Linked DNA regions of Homo sapiens: all the other regions are linked to region 1. Evidence: promoter capture Hi-C in 16 types of primary human blood cells and fetal thymus (Javierre and others, 2016). All regions are on one chromosome and are shown on one strand. Each heading gives the region's core, a stretch centred on a gene start or on the middle of the fragment in contact. The rest is flanking DNA. Distances are from core to core; before and after follow the strand shown.

The links. The method cuts DNA at HindIII sites, captures the fragments that hold promoters and counts their contacts. A CHiCAGO score of 5 or more calls a contact.
Region 2: a contact is called between a fragment that was not itself captured here and the fragment with the promoter of RTTN in region 1, in 2 of 17 cell types (total B cells and naive B cells). The highest score is 13.6, in total B cells.
Region 3: the fragment with the promoter of CNDP2 here is called in contact with the fragment with the promoter of RTTN in region 1 in 1 of 17 cell types (total B cells); the score reaches 5.4 in total B cells.
Region 4: a fragment that was not itself captured here is called in contact with the fragment with the promoter of RTTN in region 1 in 2 of 17 cell types (naive B cells and total B cells); the score reaches 7.1 in naive B cells.

What each region holds. Positions count from the first base shown.
Region 1 is chr18:70,203,277-70,208,198 of GRCh38, forward strand. It overlaps RTTN (rotatin), which reads right to left and starts at 2,411. Exons shown (of 49, transcript NM_173630.4): 1 at 2,352-2,411; 2 at 1,852-2,039; 3 at 810-987. The coding sequence starts at 2,382. LOC105372180 (a long non-coding RNA gene) reads left to right here and starts at 2,513. Exons shown (of 3, transcript XR_935599.3): 1 at 2,513-3,298; 2 at 3,753-3,818. RefSeq lists enhancers at 2,111-2,240, 2,451-2,560, 2,479-3,108, 2,571-2,810. The HindIII fragment of the contact is 5,232 bases long and covers 929-4,922 here.
Region 2 is chr18:74,595,285-74,600,206 of GRCh38, forward strand. ZNF407 (zinc finger protein 407) reads left to right here and starts at 2,586. Exons shown (of 9, transcript NM_017757.3): 1 at 2,586-2,653. It overlaps ZNF407-AS1 (ZNF407 antisense RNA 1), which reads right to left and starts at 2,551. Exons shown (of 2, transcript NR_024484.1): 1 at 1,144-2,551. RefSeq lists enhancers at 2,362-2,571, 3,362-3,581 and a silencer at 2,672-2,971. The HindIII fragment of the contact is 2,354 bases long and covers 839-3,192 here.
Region 3 is chr18:74,494,298-74,499,219 of GRCh38, forward strand. CNDP2 (carnosine dipeptidase 2) reads left to right here and starts at 2,066. Exons shown (of 12, transcript NM_018235.3): 1 at 2,066-2,134. RefSeq lists enhancers at 1,352-1,621, 2,179-2,691, 3,075-3,174 and silencers at 1,892-2,401, 2,532-2,581. The HindIII fragment of the contact is 6,969 bases long and covers 513-4,922 here.
Region 4 is chr18:74,148,945-74,153,866 of GRCh38, forward strand. TIMM21 (translocase of inner mitochondrial membrane 21) reads left to right here. Exons shown (of 6, transcript NM_014177.3): 1 at 1-165. Among named protein-coding and RNA genes, the nearest start is that of TIMM21, 2.9 kb to the left of the region's middle. RefSeq lists an enhancer at 1,573-2,772. The HindIII fragment of the contact is 5,042 bases long and covers 1-4,852 here.

The sequences.
Region 1 (4,922 bases), core at 1,161-3,660:
GTTGCAACCTCCGCCCCCCGGGTTCAAGTGATTCTCCTGCCTCAGCCTCCCTACTAGCTGGGATTACAGGCGCCCGCCACTATGTCCGGCTAATTTTTGTATTGTATTTTTAGTAGTGACGGGGCACCATGTTGGTCAGGCTGGTCTTGAACTTCTGACCACCTGCCTCGGCTTCCCAAAGTGCCGGGATTACAGGCGTGAGCCACCATGCCCAGCCCGGTGTTCTTTCTTATTATCCCAGTTTTTGAATGAGAAAACTGAAGCCTGGAAGGGTTAATTACCTTAGCCAAGGTCACACAACTAGCAGCAGAACTGAGACTTAAATCCATGTCTCTTTGACTTGGATTTTAACAAGTATATCATGATGGACTGCAGCATATAAAAATACTTGCATTATGTCGTTTTGATTGGTCCCCACAACAAGATCATGAGCTAGGACAGATATCATTATACTCCAATATGACGAACAAGGTCAAAAATACAAATATAAAGCACTAAGAACAATGAGCACTCATGTGCTCAATAAAAATACATTGTTATTGCCAAAAAAATAATCTGTCAAACTGGCCTCATAAAAGCAAAGTCACTGGCATCGTTTAGGCCTGACCCAAAAAGCAATTAATGCAAATGTACCATCCTTTGACTAACAGTAGAGGAGGGGAAAAAGGTCAAAATCATGTAAGTTAACACAAGAAAAATAAGTTTGGGGGAGGTGGGAGAAATCCTTTTTAAAAAAATCTAATCTCCCTTTCCTTAAAATTTACCATTAGAATTAATATATTTGTATTTAACAGATTCCAAAGAGTTACCAGTTTGATTGGTTTGGTATGAGGCAGAAGATAGTGCAGGAACTTCCGAAGGAAGAAGAAAAAGTCCATCCAGAATGCCATCAATTTCAGCCTGCAGATTTGGCTCCACATTAGACCGAAGCTTAGATAAGAACTCTACTGCACCAACGTCAACCAAATGTTGGACTGCTGGGGGATACTAAAATAAGAAGAGGATGATCTTGAGAATAACTGTATCAAAATCTCTATAACTTACAGCAATCAAAACATAAAATTATTTTTGGTATATCAGATGTTCCTTTTCTGAAAAACAAATCCTTCATGGCTCTGCCCCGAAGTAAGGCACTTCCATGAGGAGCACATACACCTATAGAGACATACATCCAACACTTGATAACATTTATGAAAGATGAGCCAACACACTGAACGCTAGAAATGCACATTATCAATCCCTACTCTTATTTTTTTAATGGGTTACTTTTTTCCACTGACACTCACCTTATGGTCCCAGCCCCAACCGGTCAACAGGATGTCAAAGTAGTTTAAGATTCCTCTACCATTGTACAGTGATTTAGTTTTGAAAGGTTAAACTTACACTTTGATATCTGACCCCGATAACTAACTACTCTTGAGGTAGGCATAAGAATACCAATCTAAAAGCATATGGGCAAGCAACTTAACATTGGTATTTATGAATCACGGTTATGTAACATTATTTTTAAAGTGCTCCCTTTCATACTGACATATCTAGTTTTTAAGATGTAAATGTCAGAAAACAAAAACAGAATACAAATATTAACCTCCAAAGATAACTCAAAAACACAGAACATACCAAAACTCAAAAGAAGTTCTGTGTTACTTCTGAGCACAGCAGAGACCATGTGGGATTCAGTATCACAAATAAAAGATGAACCATATACCCAGATTAATTAAAATTAAACATCTCTGGTTGATTAAAAAAACTTTTAACCCCAATTATTTAACTTTCAATAAACGCTACAATTAAATGACTAAGAAACAAGTCACTCGTCTGATTATTTTCTTTATTTCAAAATGACCCTACCTTAACCAATCTGCTTAACAGGTTCAGAACCTCTTCCTTCATCGGAACGGACGGGAAATTGAACCATTCCAGCAAATGAAGAAAAAGTTGCCTCTCCTGAATGAGATCAGCGTAGCAGATTAAGTTGTGCTCAATCTTGCAGAGAATACTCTTGAGAGCGCGCTCCCTGATCTCGGCCAGCTGATGACCTGTCAACGAACGGCACAAAACTATTTTATTTCCCGACTGCAAAGAGACTACGTTATTTATGCTGTGGGCAGGAGCGGCGTGAAGACGGAATAAACCAGTTTTTTTCAGAAGCAGGCCACTGGTGCCTTCGGGACGCGAACCGCGAAGTTTACACAAAGTCCGAGATGGGTCCCCGGGGGCTATCCTGACAAAGCGGGGGTGAAAGAGGGAGCGGTCGCGGAGCGGCCGGCCGCGGAAACGTGACACGACCATTCTCAGCAAGTGGCCAGAGCGCGGGGGGTGCCTTGGGCGAGGGGCAAGCTGACAGTTACCGAGTTTCCTGATGAGCCCTGCCAGGACCATCTCGTCCCGTCAATCTGCAGCCGCCGGAGAATTAAACTGCCGCGCCACTGCGTCCAGCCACAATTAATGTACCCCCGGAAACACGTCCTGTGGGACGGTGAGTTCCGCAACGCCTGCGCTCACCAGGAGTAGGAGTCATTACGTGAGCCCTTCGCGGCCCCAGCGTCGCCAGGAGAGCTTCCAGCCTCTCTAGAATCACTACTGCGCACTTCCTGGACAGCAGTCTCCGTCGCAAGAAGCGGAGGGAAAAAAAAAAGCAACAAGCAGGGATAGAACCAGCGTTGGCCGCCGCGCACGTCGGGAGTTGTAGTTCTGGCTAGGCCGTGCGTCCTGCACCGATCTCCGGGCCCGCCGCGGCGCCCGCTGGCCTGGGGTTCCGGCTTACAGCGCGGGAATTCGGGAACCCAGCGCGGGCTGCAGAGGCCCCAGCAGGAGCCCCGCCTCCCGGCTCGTCGACGGATTCGTTCTTGGCCCTGCCAATCTGATTCTCAGCTCCCAGAACTTCACGATTTAGAATGTAGACTTTTGCTTTGTGACAGTTCTCCCCATCCCCGACTACTAAATGACGAACCCTCTTTAACTGTGAAATGTACCTGCAAAGTCAAGCAGTGTCTTTGGATACCCAAGTTCAGATATGAACAAGCAAGCTACAAAAGCGGGGTGGGCGGGTATGAGTGAGCAGAAGAGAGAAACCGGGCTGCAAAAAAGGAAAATAAAGGCGGGACGTGGGGGTATGATTTGCTGAATGGTACCAAAGTTGATTTTTTGCACCGTGCACAGTGATCGAGCTGAGCAAATTATTTTTTTTTTAATTATAAGCAGCGGTAAGAACAACAACAAAATTACATTTGGAAAATGATTTGCATTTTCTCGGTCTGATCATTTCACGTTCCCTGGGAAAGGGATGTCAAGGCAGGTAAAGTGGGCCCTCGGTATCCCTAGGTAATTGGTTCCAGGACCCCCGCAGATACCCAAATCCACCCATGCTTAAGTCTCTTTTATAAAATGGTGTAGTATTTGCATATAACCTACACACATCCTCCTATATGCTTTAAATCATCTCTAGATTGCTTACAATACCTAATACACTGTAAATGCTATGTAAATAGTTGTTACACTGTACTTTTATTCATATTATTTTTTAATTGTTGTATTGTTATTTTCAACTGTGGGGTTTTTTCCCGAATATTTTCCATCCCGTGTGTTGAATTCTCTGTGTGCAACCAGTGGACAGCAAAGGCCTACTGTATTCCCATTCCTATTTTGCCAAAGAGGAAACTTAGAATCACAAAAGTACCCCCACACAAAGTCACATTAACTAGTAAGTGACAGATTGAGGAGCTGACCTGATGTTTCTTTGTTCTATTTAGAGTGCCTTGCTGCCTCCTCATGTGTGTCAATAGGAGAGTGATGATATTTGAGTTGGATCTTAAAGAGTAAGTAGGAGTTTGCCACACAAAGAAGTTGGGTAAGGAAATTCCTGCAGGAGAAACCTGTATTTGCAAAGGCAAGAATCCAGACGGAGTGTGTCAAATTCGGGAAAAGAACAAAATTCAAGGTGGCCATATTATCTCTGGGAAGAAGAGAGGAAGGGCAAGATTGCTGCTAGCATGCTGGATATTCTCCATTCCACCTTCTAGTGGTTCCTCCCAGCTCTTCCAGCTCTGCATCAACTGACCTGAACAGGCAAAAAGACTGCACTATCCAGGCTGCCTGGCCCTCTGGCTTCCAGTTGGTTGCCGCCGATAGGAGGCATCAGCAGGAAATTGGAAAGTAGGAGGAAAGAGATACGGATATTAAACCAAGATTCCACTAGCCCATGCCTAAGCCTGCCTGGCCAAGATTGTAACAGTGGCTGAATTCCTTGACCCAAAGACCACATGTCCTGATGGATAGCATACCACAGTGGGCACTGCAGAACCAGTTACACCAACTCAGAAGTGTCTGTAGTTATCCAGGAAGGAAGGTGTTAATTACGGATTTGAAGTGTCAAGGTCAAAAAACACATGACAATACAGAAAAATAATAGAAATAACTTGTCAATGATGTTTCTGAGATGAACAATCTTAGGTGATGAGAGACTGTAGATGCAGTGGGGTAAGGGGCGATAATACTGTAGAAGAAATATAAAAAATCCATTGACTTAAAACAAGCATGTTACAAGTAAAATGGGGGTCAAACTATGAAAGGGTTTTACTTATGTTGCACCCAAGGTCAACATAAACATTTTATTTTATTTTCATTGTTGAGCATATATTGCTCCTGTAATTAGACAAAAATAATTAAATCCCATTCATTACATTCAAAGCAAATAATCTATCATTCTCCTATTAGACTATTGATTCAGCAATTTTTCCTAAAAAAAAATCAACCTTTGATTTATTAATTCTACTATTTAAAAACACACATATATATTCTAGTGTATTGACTGTATTATTTTTTACCAGTTACTTCACTCTGTCGCCCAGGCTGGAGTGCAGTGGTGTGATCTCCGCTCACTGCAACCTCTGCCTCCTGGGTTCAAGTGATTTTCCTGCCTC
Region 2 (4,922 bases), core at 766-3,265, 4.4 Mb after region 1:
GTTTGTTTTCAGAATGAGCTGTTATCATCTTTGTTTCAAAGTTACACTATAAACTAAGTTCCTTCCAGAGTTAGTTCTGCCTATGCCCAGGAATGAACAAGGACAGAGTTTAGAAGCAAGATGGAATTGGTTAGGTCAGATCTCTTTCACTGTCATAATTTTCTCAGTTGTAATTTTTGCAAAGGTGGTTTCATCACTAGGACTCTCTGTCTTCACTAAAAGTCTGTGTTGTCCATGTCAAGCATTATTCATTCAAAAATAAAGAGAGGAAGAAAAAAAAAGACTTCCCTTTTTCCTTAGAATCAGAAAATTAGTCTTGAATGACATCTATGGACTCTCTCAGTTGGAAATGAGGTCAAACTGACTTCCTTAAGGTCCTGTCTTAGTAACTCAAAATACTCAAAATAGAACTGAAACATAAACTTAGATTTTACTTCACTGCTCAGGGGAGGAACATAAGTGTTAACTAAACCCCCAAGGTAAGAAAGGTAGCAAGATAAATCACCCAAAGATCACAGAATGCCCAATCCATATACAGAATTGTGCTATTGTTATTGTCAAGAAATTTATCACCTTGTCATACAACACCAACACTGTTGAAATAGCTATTAAAACACTGTAGGAAGTGCTAAATTTTCACATAAATTTTAAATTTCAAGTGAACTCTTTGAAGGCAGAACCCAGTTTTATCTTTTATATAACAGGCACCCAATAAATGTTGGTTAATGGAATACAAATAACATTTGCAGCTGGTCACTTGTGAGGAAATTGTTTCCCACATTTTTCTCTAGAATTTTTAATTAACTATTACTATTAAACTGAGTCTACATGATGGAAAAGCTTGACTCTGGAGTTTTAGGTTGAGTTCCACTTTTACTAGCTGTGTGATCTTGGAACAGTTTATTAGTCTTCTAAATTACTGTTCCTTACTGTGGATAAGAGAATTCATGTGGATTACAATCAGAATTAAACCAGATAATGTCTACAAAAAGTTTTCTATGAACTATTTAAAAAGGTAAGGAATTATCACTCGAATGTATTCTGATTTAAACTGAATTGTGTTCGAATTGGCCTTGAGTGACGATTTGGCCTAGAAAGCCTATCTTCAGAACATCACACACACACAAAAATCCAATTACTTACAATGATTTTTTTGAGACGGAATCTCGCTCTGTCGCCCAGGCTGGAGTGCAGTGGCGCAATCTCGGCTCACTGCAGCCTCCGCCACTGGGTTCAAGCTATTCTCCCGCCTCAGCCTCCAAGTAGCTGGAATTACAGGCTCGCACCACCATGCCTGGCTAATTTCAAATTTTTAGTAGAGACGCGGTTTCCCCAGGCTGGTCTCAAAATCCTAGCCTCAAGCAATCCACCGACTCGGCCTCCCAAAGTATTGGGATTACAGGCGTAAGCCACCCCGCCTGGCCAGTGATCTTCCTAAACAGAAATCTGATCACATAACTTCCCATTACAGAGTCTAACCCTAACCCTGTGCCTACAACATAGTCAAACCTCTTTAGCAAGGCAGATGACCTCAAGCAGGATTTCACTGCCTCTTTGTCACAGCACTTAACAAGCTGTGATGTATTTATTTTTATTCGTCTACACAGGTCTTCCCTACTAGATTCTGAGTTTCAGAAGAAAGGCCTCTAACTCGAGGTTCATGAATGGACCTGCACAAGGGGGCGGACGGGCTGAAGTCCTGCCTTTTTTTTTTTCCAAAAAACCCGTATGCTGTGCCGTTAACGTTCATAAAAAAGTCCTTGTCGAACGTTTTAAACAGCCAAGGTGTTTCAGCTTTAATAAAAGCTGAAAATTTGGCAATACCAAACAGGTCACCAAGCCACAGTCCGCTTCTTGGCCTCCTCTTTGGTATCAGAGTTCGGCTAGCGGCTTCCTGTGGCCTCTTAAACAAGGACCTCATTTTGGGAGCCATTCGAGAGATTTTTTCTCATCATCTAAAGTAGCATTCTCGCCTTGCACAGCTGAAAGTCATTTCTCGAAATCGGAGCGCCAGAAGCGACAGGAGCCACTCCAGGCCCGGGGGAAGCGAGCAAAGGGGCAGCGGGCTGCGTTTGCCAACGTAGGCCTCTCGGGTCCCGCGCCGTTCTGGGCCTTCTCCGTGTTTCCGGCGCCGCCCTCGGGGTCCCTTACAGAGGGCGGGAGGCGGGTGGAGAGACGGGGCAGGAAGCAGGCGGGATCGGCCTGGGAAGAACCCGTTCTGGGACCCTCTAGAAATCCCAGACAGCCCTCCCGGGCTGACAGCGCCTGCCTTGGAGCCCGACGCGCTCATCGAATTTAGATTGACTCCTTCGGCTCTCCGTTTTCCTTCTCTAAGGGAAGGGTGGGACTTCCTATTTTATCTCTTAGCGGCTTCCGGCAAGAGCTGATGTGTTAAAAACAAGACAGCACATGGGCCTGCCGGCCACTCGGATAAAAAACAAGGAACTCGACCTGGATTGTACTAAACCAGTTCCAAGATTCTGTTTTTCGGCTGTGGCGTCCGGCGCTGCATCCACTACGGAGTCGCCTTGGAAGCCACCGGAAGTCCTTCGACGGAGAAACAGGATGTCCCGCCTCTTCCTCCCAAAGGGAAGACGGTGAGCCGGAGGAGTCAGTCAGAGGGGCGAGCAGGAGCGATTCCGTCGCCAAACAGGTAAGTTATTCTCTGGCCGGGGCGGGGGGTTTGGAGGCGGGGACCGTCCAGCGTCAGCGCGGGGCCTGGGGGCGGTGGCTTGAGGGCTCGAAGCCGGGCGGCTGGGCGCCCAGAGCCCCGTCTGGGCCCTTCGCTCTTTCTCCTCCCCCCTCCCCCCGCCTCCGCCCCTCCCTGTCGCCTTCCTTCCCGACACCCGCCCAGACTCACGCCCGGACACACACCCTCGCTCGTTCGCTCACGCTGCCTCGCCGCCCTCCTCCCCCAGGCCCCAGCTGCCGCCCTGCCCTCTCACCCGCTCGCTCCGCAGGCCGGTCCCGCGGGCAGCCTCGCTCCGCGCCCTTGCGCGAGCGGAGCTCTTGTGGACACCTCGGGGCTGCGGACCTAGCGTGGCCTCGGTTTCCCCTGCCGGGTTCGCCTGTCCGCGCAGAAACAGTCCCCCGTTCCTTCGGGACGCACCCCTGCACCGAAATCGGGCCGTTCTCGCGTGCCCGGGTTGCTCTCAAGTGGAAAACAGATGCTCCCCTAGCTGCACAGCTGCAAGCTTTAGCGTCTGGTTTCCAGCAGGGGCTCCCTGGACCGCCCGCCCACTCTCGTGTCACCCCCAGGTGCCCTGGCTGCGCCGCTGCTACTCGCGCCTTCTTCCGTTAAGCGACGCTGGTGTGGGCGGGCGGAGGGCACACAAGTGCGGTGGCCGAAAGCACCGCGGTGGCAGCGAAGGGTCCTAGCCATTCCCGACTTCAGCTCGCTTTGCGCCACTGCGGGGAGACCCGCGGCTGCCTGACACCGCTGCGGGCAGCAGTGGGTTTCTCAGTAGATGCTCACCTCTTTCCAGCCAGCTAGCACGCCCTGGGTGCTTGGCCTCCTTCTGGAGTTTAAGCTGGTGGAGGCGGGGTGCAGTGGCCGCTGACCTCTGTCGGTTGCGCTGGGTTTTGAGTAGCCATTTATTTCATTGGGGAGTTTTGGAATAGGACATCCCACATCCGTGGACACACATGTAGAATACTTTTATAAGTAATTACAGTCTTAATAGTGATTTGAGTTACAGCTTTGCAGTCTATGCCTGGTGACATCCTAGTCGTAGTATGTATCTGTTTTGTGGTGAAGTGCTGGTCCATTTAGAACACTGTAGACAGGGGCCCTAACATATACTCATCAGAACCTTATTAAGAAGAGCTTATATGTCATTTGGCATACTCACTGTGCTTCATTTAGTACAGCAATCTTGTGTAGTAGGAATTATTCCCTTTTTACAAACTGAGACTCACTTTGCTATATACAAAATTACTGCTACTGGTACAAGGTAAAGCTTTCTTCTTGCGTGACATGTAAGGCAGGTGTGATAATTGCTCACAACACAGTTGCTACTGGTGCATTTTTTTTTAAACTTTATTTCGGAATAAATTAAGATTTACAGAAAAGTTGCAAACAATAGGACAGTTCCATTGGTACCTTTTAAGCAGAGCAAAGTGGCTCCACTTCAAAAACACTGGTTCTTGCTTTATGCCAAACACCCTTCTAGGTGTTGGAAATAGTAATATACTTCCCTAGAGGATTTTGAGATCTGGTTGAATAGACACATAAATAAATATATATAATACCTTTTTCTGCTTACTAAAATAGAGATGTGGGAGCACAGTGGAAGTTACGGCTGATTGATGGTGGGGAGTGGTGAAAGCTTCTTGCAGGATATGTGATTTGAGATAGGTCTCAAGGACTAGTGGGTATTCACCTGGTTGAAGGGACATTTTCCCCAACATTCATTCCGATTAGGTTTGTTTTATTAGAGTAGAACTCGCTAATCTTAATAAAATATACTCTCCTAGTTTGATTCTTCTCTTTCTCATCTCCTTTAAGAAGGTGGTTTGTATCCCAGATAGTGAGAAGAAGCCTAGTTTCTAAATCTATGAATAGGCGAATAAATTAAGCTGTATGTTTCTAATTGATAGTTGTGACTCTTTCGACTGTAGTTGAGATTGGTTTTTTAGGAATGCACTGTGGTCCTCCACTGAGCGTTTTCCTTGCTTTCCAACTCTGATGACTAGTGGAATTAAGTAATGCATTCAGGAAACATTTACCGCATGCTTGCTTTGTGCCAGCCATTGCACTAGAGTAAAATGATGAACAAGATAGTGGGGAATATAGACAAGCAAATGCGCATTGGCAGTGCAGTCTGATGGCCTGCCCACAGAGTGTCACAGTGCCATTCATGATTCTTGGTTGTCAACCATGGCAATGGACTTGGCTGACTTAAGCAGAAAAGGAATTTATT
Region 3 (4,922 bases), core at 816-3,315, 4.3 Mb after region 1:
CTATATTAAGGGTAAATGTTGTGTTTTGTATTTTCTTAACATTTATTCAGATTCATAGGAGAAACATGTTCACCAACTTCTTCAACACTGAGTACTGCAAATGCATTTTCATGTTTTCACTTGGACTGAAGCATCTGATTGCTCTAAAGTTCTCAACTACTTCTTTGCTCATTATTTATTCTTACCTTGAGCCTATTAAATTTTGGTAACAGTAGTGTGTTATGGCTTCTACTCTAAATCACTTCTTTTTGCTATATACATATGTGTGTGTGTGTGTGTGTGTGTTTTGTTTTTTTTTTTAACCAAACCCTCTTTTCAGCAATAATCTCATTTATGGATACCTGAACGAATTTATTTAAAAGCCCAGTAGATATGATTAAAGGATGTATCTTCCACCAATGTTTACTTTTTGCAATGTTTGCAAAATGTGTAATATAGTTTTTTCTTTTTATCATTCATGTACAATAATTATTATGAGAATTTAATCCAGAAGAAAAAATGTTAATACTTAAAGCTTTTTGGTTATAGCAAAGTGTCTATGGCCATACCACCCTGAACATGCCTAATCTCATCTGGTTATAGCAAAGTAAATATTAATTTAAATTTTTATCATAGTCTGTTGTAGAGAAATGATTAGGATATGAGTAAGACTATTAAGTATAAAAATGTTACATTTAACAAAATTCTATGAGGGATGTGGAATAGAAATAAAAAATAAAAGAGGAGGCAGGGATGGGGGGGACGGGGTGGCTCACGCCTGTAATCCCAGCACTTTAGGAGGCTGAGGCGGGTGGATCAGTAGGTCAAGAAATCGAGACCATCTTGACCAATATGGTGAAACCCTGTCTCTACTAAAAATACAAAAATTAGCTGGGTGCGGTGGTGCGCACCTGCAGTCCCAGCTACTCGGGAGGCTGAGGCAGAATGGCTTGAACCTGGGAGGCGGAGCTTGCAGTGAGCTGAGACTGGGCTACTGCATTCCAGCATGGCAACAGAGCAAGACTCTGTCTCTAAATAAATAAATAAATAAATAAATAAATAAATATAAAAAGAGGAAACAAACCATGTAAATTTTAAGGGAGGAGACAATTTTAACATTTTACTTTATGTGGGAACGTATACATCTCTTACAACTATTAAATTCATTTTTAAAAAATAATAACTCCCGAGCCATCACTCCTTAAAGAATGTGGTAGTGGTACAAGTTTAAAGAAAGTCTTTTGAGAACACTCTATTGGAAAAGTGAGCAGACTAGGGAATAACAATTTTACCCCCAAGAATTGTTGTTAAGATTAAAAAGGAAAGCGCTGTCGCAGACGCTCAAACACGGTGCTGGCTCTGCTTCCTTCATCAGTTCCTAGGGTCATGGGACACAAATACTAAAATATTTCCACTACTGGTAACGATGCTGGCGAACGCTTTCCTAATCCAGTTCAGACCGACCTCTCATTGGAGCTTGTGTGACCCGCAGGAGTCCGTGCCCCGACTCCGCCGGGACTGAAACGCAACGGAAAGTGCAGTGCTGGATGCGCAAGGGAATGGGAGCGTCGTGGGACCTCCGGAGCCTGGGAGATCAGAGGGTGGAGTCAGGGCCCCCTAGTTTTGGACTCCATTGCCGCACTGCAGGCGACTTCTCGGACCCCACCGTTGAAGCACCAGGCCCCCCGCCCACCCAAGAGCAACCGGGAAGCACAGCACAAGCCCACAGCTCCGGACACGCGCTCCCGTGTGCCCTGCCTCCCCTGAATCCCAACCCACGAAATCTCCGCCCCCTCGCCACGCCCACATCCCCGTCTACCGTCGGGGAGGGGCGACGAGGCGAAAGCCTTGTGGACCAGGCCGGGATTGGTGGGCGGGACGGAAATGGAGCTGGGAGAGGTGACGTCACCTTCCGCACCTGGCTCAGGGCGGAAATGGGGCGGGGAGAGAGTGACACCACCCCTCTGCCTGTGGCTGGATTGGTGGGCGTGGCGGGGGCGTGGCGATGCCTGCCCTCCGGACAAGGCGGGGTTGGTGGCCAGGGCGACCGCGGGGCGGGCCAGCGCCGGGGGTCGTGGCCGGGACACGTGGTACGGAACCGGCGCCGCGCTTGCTGCTGGTAACAGGGCCTTGCCTAGTGGGCCTTCCTTCCCAGGTGGGTCTTCCTGATGGACCTTCCTTCCCGGGTGGGCGCCCTGAGCTGGGAACGGGCTGGGCGGGGAGGACCCGGGTCAGCGGCGAGAGTCACGCCTCATTCGTGGGGGAGCGTGGGGCGCCCGGCCGCAGCCAGGCGGGAACAATGGTGTCCGGGCTGTTCCCGAGCGCGCGGTCGGGGGCGGAGGCCCGTGACGGCCATGGCCCCGGGGCCTCTCGCACCTCCGGGCCACTCGTGTCCCAGCAGCGCCGAGCGCGTCCCCGGTACGCAGGGACAAGCTGGGCGGCGCACTTGGCCTGAGCCTGCGTGGCCCTCCCTGGTGGAGTCGAGTGGAACGACCCGGGTTGGAGATGGGGTTGCGGGGAGCCGAGCGCTGGTCAGGCCACACCCCTCCCCAGGGGCCTGCTGAGAACTCCAGCCTTTCTCCAACGGATCCCTTTCCCGGAGACCTGGGGTGGGGAGTGTGGCGGGACAGAAGCCTCCCAGGTTCAAAGGGCCCTGGACAGCGTCCCTAGCTCCCGCCAGCATTTGAGGCAGCGTTTAAGGCTATAGGAGGAAGCGTCTGAGGGGAGACAAAATTCCCATGCCAGCTTGATGGTCTGGGGCAGGTGTCTTATTCAATTGGCTTCAGTTTCCTCATCTGTGAAATAGAGACAATATTTGGTCCTCACAGACAGGGCCACCAAACCAAACTCCCCACCGCCTGCCAAGGTCAGATTCCGTAGATCATCCAAGCATAGACTGCAGGAAGAGGCGGAGAACCCGGGGCCTGCTACCAATACCTTCCTTGTCCCTAATGTTTGCAGGCAGGAGTGGAGGAAGAGAAGTCCACATTATGCTTAGGGATCAAGTTCTAGCTTGGGCAGATTGGAGATTCTTTTATTGGTTCTTAATCAGACATGAAGGTGTGATTCAGTTATTTGTGTTATATATGCCTTCAATTATCAAGGGACAGGGACTGAGATTCTCAGAACTAGAAGACTCATTTGTGTGTACTACTGACGGTTCCAGGTGCCACAGCAATTTCTCCTGCCCTCCACTAGTCTCAACATTTAAATCATGTTACTCCCTTGCCAGGCATGGTGGCTCATGTGTGTAACCTCGGCACTTTGGGAGACCAAGGCGGACAGATCGCTTGAGTCCAGGAGTTCGAGACCAGCCTGAGTAACACGAGCAAACCCCGTCTCTACAAAAAATACAAAAATTAGCTGGGTGTGGTGGTGCGCACCTGCAGTCCCAGCTACTTGGGAAGCTGAGGCAGGAGGATCATTTGAGCCTGGGAGACAGAGGTTGCAGTGAGCCAAAATCACAGCAATGCACTCCTGCCTGGGTGACAGAATGACAACCTGTCTCTAAATAAATAAATAAAGTTACTCCGTATGAACTTTAGATTTTTAGAGGGGAGTGAGGTGTCATTTAAAAGGATAATGCTTTTGCTTAAATCAGCATACTGCTTTTACCTTAATTAGTGGTGTTCTCCAGAGCATATAAAAATGGTTCCATTTAATGGCTTTGTAACGGGGGAGGTGGGGGGAAGTGAAACAGGAGTAACCCAGAAGTGTGAATGGGAGGAGAAACTGGAACCTGGCCTAGCCTGGTTTGACTGGATGAGTGATTAACAGGAGTTGCTTTTTAGCCCATCTCTGATGGTGGAACAATCTGATCCCTGTTTCCTCTCTTTTAGTGAAAGTCGTAACTTAGATAATTACAGTCATATGTTGCTTAAGGATGGGGATACATTCCAAGAAAATGCATTGTTAGGCGATTCGTTGTTGTGTGCACATCCTGAGCTGCGCTCACACAAACCTGGATGGTACAGCCTCCTACATACCTAGGCTATATGGTGTAGCCTATTGCTCCTAGGCTACAAACCCGTACATGTACCTTTACTGGATGCTGTAGGCAGTTGTAACACAGTGGTAGGTATTTGTGTATCTAAACATATCTAGACAGAAAATGAATTTTTTAGCTCCATTATAATCTTTTGGGACCACCGCTGTTGTTGATGGAAATGTTATGTGGCACGTGACTATATTTTTGAGTGACTTTAGCTACAATGCCACTGGTTAATTTGACTACAAGAGAATAATATTAATGAGAATGTACCACAGTGAGCTTGGGATTTGTGGCATTTAATAACCAGGAACCCAGATGAAAATCACCACATGTAGCATATTGTCCTGCTAAATAGGATTTCCTTTAATGTGAACAGGTAGCTTCCCTGCGTACATTTTTGGCAACAGGTGGATGACAGTGTTATTTATTAACACTGATAAACGCCTCTCCAGCGTGCTCATGGGCTCCATCTTACTTGAGGCTCCTCCAAATGAGTGCCTCAGCAGAAAGATCCGAGCTGGCTGGGAGGTATATAACCATTCCATGCTCTGTGGCTAGTGTTTGAAGAGGAGGAAGAGGGCACTTGAGAAGGCAGTGGTTGGATGTCCCACCCACATAGAAATCACATTTGCAACTTGCAGTGCCCTGCGATTTCATCACCCTGCACAGCAACAGCCACTTTTGAACAGTTGCCACGCTTGGTGTCGTGGTGGATAAAGTCACCTCTCTGTTGAGAAATCACTTTGAAAGCCTATACCAAGGAAACAATGCTCTTTACCTGCAGCATGTCAATGCACAGGCGTTTGTCTGGCATGTAGACACGAGGCTGTAGTAGGGTCCTGTCACTCCACAGCTGTGACTCTGAGGCACTTCATGTCCCCGCAGTTTTGAATTTGCTCCGTACAGCTGTGTGCTTTCTGCTGCGGAAAGCCAATTATAAAAGTCCCAATAC
Region 4 (4,922 bases), core at 1,082-3,581, 3.9 Mb after region 1:
AATATCAAAAGAAAACGCTGCGACCTAGATGTATTCTTGGAGTCACCCAGAAAACCATCTGGACGCAGGGACCGAGCCCCCGAAAAGCAAAGGAGGATGGCAGCAAACAAGTGTCTGTGCACAGGAGTCAGAGAGGGGGAACCGCCGTCCCAACATCACAAAAAGGTAAAAAGGAGTACTTTAATGATTGGGCTTTCAACAGACATGACAAGAGCTGCCAATGCCCTTTTATACCAAGTTCACTGCTAAAGGTGAAAAAGCAATTCACATGAATTTTTAAAAACCGTTTAAACATAATTTAGAACTAGAACATATAGATCTACAGTTTTCTTCACAGATTGGAACTCAGATGTGAAAGTTGATCTTGAATTTGATATAACTTTTTTTCATTATGTTTGGGAAATTTTTCTCAAGTTATATTGGCTCTGTTACATATAATAAAGAGTAATTGGATAGGATAAAAAGAGAGAGAGAGAGATTATTGACTCATAACTGGTAGGGAAAACTTTCACATGTTACCTGCAGTAATAGAAAAACATAAAATAGGGAGGATGGAATGTAAGTTGTCAGGGAAAGTCAGAGATGTATTCACAGATATTTTAAGATTTTTTTTTAATGTCTTCATTTCGCATGTGATTTGTAGGAAAAAAAAAGACAAAGCAATTTAGACCGCCATGATTATACCACACGAAGATGACTATTTTTAACATTTTGCACTTTCATACACATACCTTTTAATAATTTTTAACCCAAAAAATTGGATCATACCAATTGTTTTAGAGTCTGCTGACTATGCCAAAAACCTAGCTTTTCATTCATACTAGTTCAGCACGAAGGAACAACCTGTATGCAGAGGTGAAAGGCATAGAAGTGGCAAACAGCATGTGCATCAGGTCATCTGGCTCAGGCAACAGTGCTCATGCTTGCACTGCACACCAGGCCTGCTTAGGGACCCCTTCCCTCATCTGCACCCCATTCAGACGTGACAGTCCTTGTGGCTGAGTGAATTGATGGGAGCAACATTCCCAAATATGGAATATGCTGCGTCCAGAATTCAAACAGGCCTATGAAGCATTGTGGTAGGAGGTATAGGGTACAATTGTCTTTTACTTGGGAGGGCATGTCTTGGCACGCCCCAGTGTAGCCCCACGAGGTCGGCTCATGTGTTGATGAGCCTCTGCATCTTTGTTGGACCCACCTCTCACACTTGCAGCTTCTCTGACCAAGCCTTCTAACACACTTGCCACTTGTTACTTATGGGCTCTAACATGATGGCATAAATATAGTAGACAAATGTGATATTCTCCTGAATGTCCAGAACAGCATTATTCAAATAAAACTTTCTGCATAGAAATGTCCTATATCTGTGCTGTCCATTTGGGTAGTTCCTGGCCACTTGTAGCTATTTTGAGCACTTGAAATGTTGCTAAAACTTGTGACTGAAGAACTGAATTGATTTAATTTTAATTAATTTAAAATTGAACTGAAATAGCCATGAGTGGCAAGTGGCTACTGTATTAGACAGCCCAGGTCCAGAAGGTTTCAGTCCCTTAAGACTGTTATGATAGAGGGTGAGAGAATTAGCAAATCCTGGGCAGGATCATAAACATACACTGTTATTATCTGTTTCATGTTACTACAGACTACTGCTGCTGCTTCTGAATAGAAGGCGTTCTTCAAAGCAATGGCCAATACCATGAGATTGTGTTAATGCATTCCCCTGTAAAGTTACCATTTGTGGTATTACATGTGTACCCCGGCTGCCACTTGGTTGAGTTTGCAGTTAACCACTGTCATTCTCCAGCACCTATTTGTGTTTTGTAAAGGAAGACTGGTAAATTACAAGGGACCGTGATGGGGATCGCCATGCCTGTATCTAAGGTCTCTAAGAATACTCTGCCATTCCCCATAGATGTGATATCATTTTTAATTTCCTATCTTGGTCACCGAAAGGGCAGCTTCAGGGGCTTCCATTTGACTTTTCCCACTGCGATGGCTCTTAACCCACTTCCAAAGGAACTAAAGTGGGAGTTATTGTTGCCAGTTACTCAGTACATCCCCTTGATTTATACATTTGGAAATCACAGAAATTATTGCCAGGTAAGTCCCTGGACCCACCTGTGAGCTTCTTACATCCGGTGATGGAGGGCGGTCAGGGGGTCATCATGACTCTTTGGGTCCTTGGGTATCACTGTCAGCACAGACTATGTCCAAGTTGATAACTGTAGGTCCTTTTGGTGAAGGACGGGGGGAGTCAGTTACATACGCTTTCCTTCAGTAAATGCGTTCCAGGTCTGAAAACTGGTTCAGGTCCAGAAACTGGGGCAATGTTCAGGACTTTGCATTAGAGCAGCTGCCTTCAGCCTCAGGAATCATCTGTAGTTAATTTCTCATGACTGTGTAATTCAGAAGTAGCCTTGTCCGCTGCCCTTGTGTCTTCCCTTTGGAAACACTGTGTTCTAGTCATCAACTCTGTTGCTTTCTGTAGGTCAGACACTCCCGACTGCCACTCCAGCCTTGCCATTAGTTATGATGGTTGCACCCACCTTGGCTTCTGTTTAACACCCCAGCCTGGTCTCTGCTTCATAATTCTTTCATCTCCATTTCTGTCAGGGCATCCTGCTCTATAAAGATGTAACTGTGGCTTCCTTGTGGCTTTGGTACACAGTGTCCTCCTGTCCCTCCTAAGAACATAGTCAGCTGGTGGGTTTTCGGGCTTTATATCTTATATCTATGGTAGCATCCCCATTCTTGGAGGCTGTTGAGCCTTTCGTCCAGTTTGCCATGGCTGTTCTGTCACTTTTACTTAATGTGGACCATCACTGTCTCGAAGTTTCCAGGAGCAGACCTAGCCAGCTGCATATCAGTTCCCAGGGTGCTTGCCTGGTTGCTAAATTCATCACAGGAGCGTGCCCCATGCTGATCAACTCTCAGCTGGTTTTGTGTTCTGTGCCCTTGACACACCACCCTTAAGAAGCAGTGGTGTCTATGTTCCCCCCCCCCCCGGGGGGACCTCCAGCTCCTTCCGAGTATTGTTCTTCTCACCCTTCTCATGCCCAGTCGTGTTGTAACTTGGCCAGGAGGGGAGGTGGAGAGCCCTCCTGAGAGCAGCACGTATCTTGCTAGGCAGAAACCCCCACCCACCCCTCGCCCAGTTTCCAAGGTGGAGGAAGTGCCAACCTTTACCAGACACTGAGCTGCTGCTTCAGGGCTAGAGGGGTCAGGAGAATTGGGATTCAAGATTTTTTACAACATTGACCTCAAGGGCCCCCTACCCAGCTTTAGGTTGCCTTTCCTCCCAAATCAGGACCCTGACCTTGGTGTGGGAGGTCTCATGGGCTTGAAATGCCAAACTCCCTGAATCCCTTCCGCCCCAGACCTCACCCACGCATTTTCTATCCTCTGGGTGCAATTTGAGTCTTGTTCTGCCGGGGAGGAGGCTCCTGCCCTTGGCACTCACCTTCACTGGTGATTAGTTACACACTTCATCTCACCATCCCTCTCCATGGCCCCAGCCACAGCCGTCTGATATAAGTCCTTAAAATTGCTGATTCCTCCTAAACTCCCAGAATAACACATCAGCCAGTACATTCCCTTCCGCCAGCATTCCATCCCAGGTCCCCATTGGTGAGAGCTGCATCAGCTGCACTACAGCTCTATGACAGGTGCTGTCAGTACCCCCCTACCACCAGGGACAGGGTCCTCATTGCCAGCCAGTGGCCGGCAAGCCAGCTCCAAAATCCAAATTGAGAGCTGCTTACCACTCCTGGTAGCACCCGTTGTAGGTTGGCTTCCCAGGGAAGTGGGATTTGCGTAAGGTTTATCAGGGAGTGCTCTCAGAATACGTCTTGAGGGATGAGGGAAGCAGGACTGGGCAGAGGGAGAGGCCGAAGTGCATTTGCAGTTGGGGCCTCAGCTGCTGCTCTGGGGACTTCTGGAGCTGAGCTGGCCAGTCACTGTCCTACCTAATATGGGGGCTGAGTCTTATGCTTCTGCATCAACCAGGCATTGAATATGGGCTGGTCCAGGGAAGTGCCGTGACCTAAGTGAGGAAGCTCTCTTATGATGGAATGCCCAGAGAGGAGCTCAGCTGACAACTGTCCGCTACCAGTGCTCCCTGCAGCTGGGAGCCCCATACCACAGCACCCACTATAGGAGGGGTAGAGAATTGTGGAAGCAAATAAATGGCATGAGGGTTTTTTGCATACAAGTATTAGGTCTGATAGGGTTCAGAAAGTTAGACAGTGAGCAGCTTCCATTGGAGACAGCTATAAAGTAACAAACAGAAATTTTTCAAGTGTGTAGAATATGGAGAATATTTAGCACAGGGCTTTATATATAACAGATATACAGGAGCTGTTGTTTATCAAATAAATGGAAAAGACCTGTCAGATACCCTAAGCAAGGTAGGAATGAATTGTTGGAAGGGACAGTCAGAAGTCCAGGGTGTTGGGGCCAATGACCCGGTTTGGGTAACAAGGACAAATAAGGATACTTACTAGAACTAGTTAGTTGTTATTGTATTCTCAACCTGGGAGTTGATACATAACTGGCAGGTAATATTTATTGAAATGTATTTTGTGACACTGAGAGTGGAATGAGATGTCGTCATTGTAGGCCCCAACTCCTGAACCTTGGAAGGGAAATTGGATTTGTGACAATTGTTTGAGTCAGTCCCATGAATTACACAGATTTTGGCAGATGAGGTCTTTTTATTATTTGAATAATGTCTTCTAAGTTGGGAACCTTGCTGAAAACTTGAAGGATTGTGATACGCTAAAGACTACTTTTAAACAAGCGTTGTATTAGCTAAATACTTCTTTTAAACAATGTTGTTTATAAACATAATAGAAGCTTTTTATACAGAAGAGAAAATAACAGCAACATCTATTAAAATTTTCTTCCAAAAGTTTTTTTCTTAA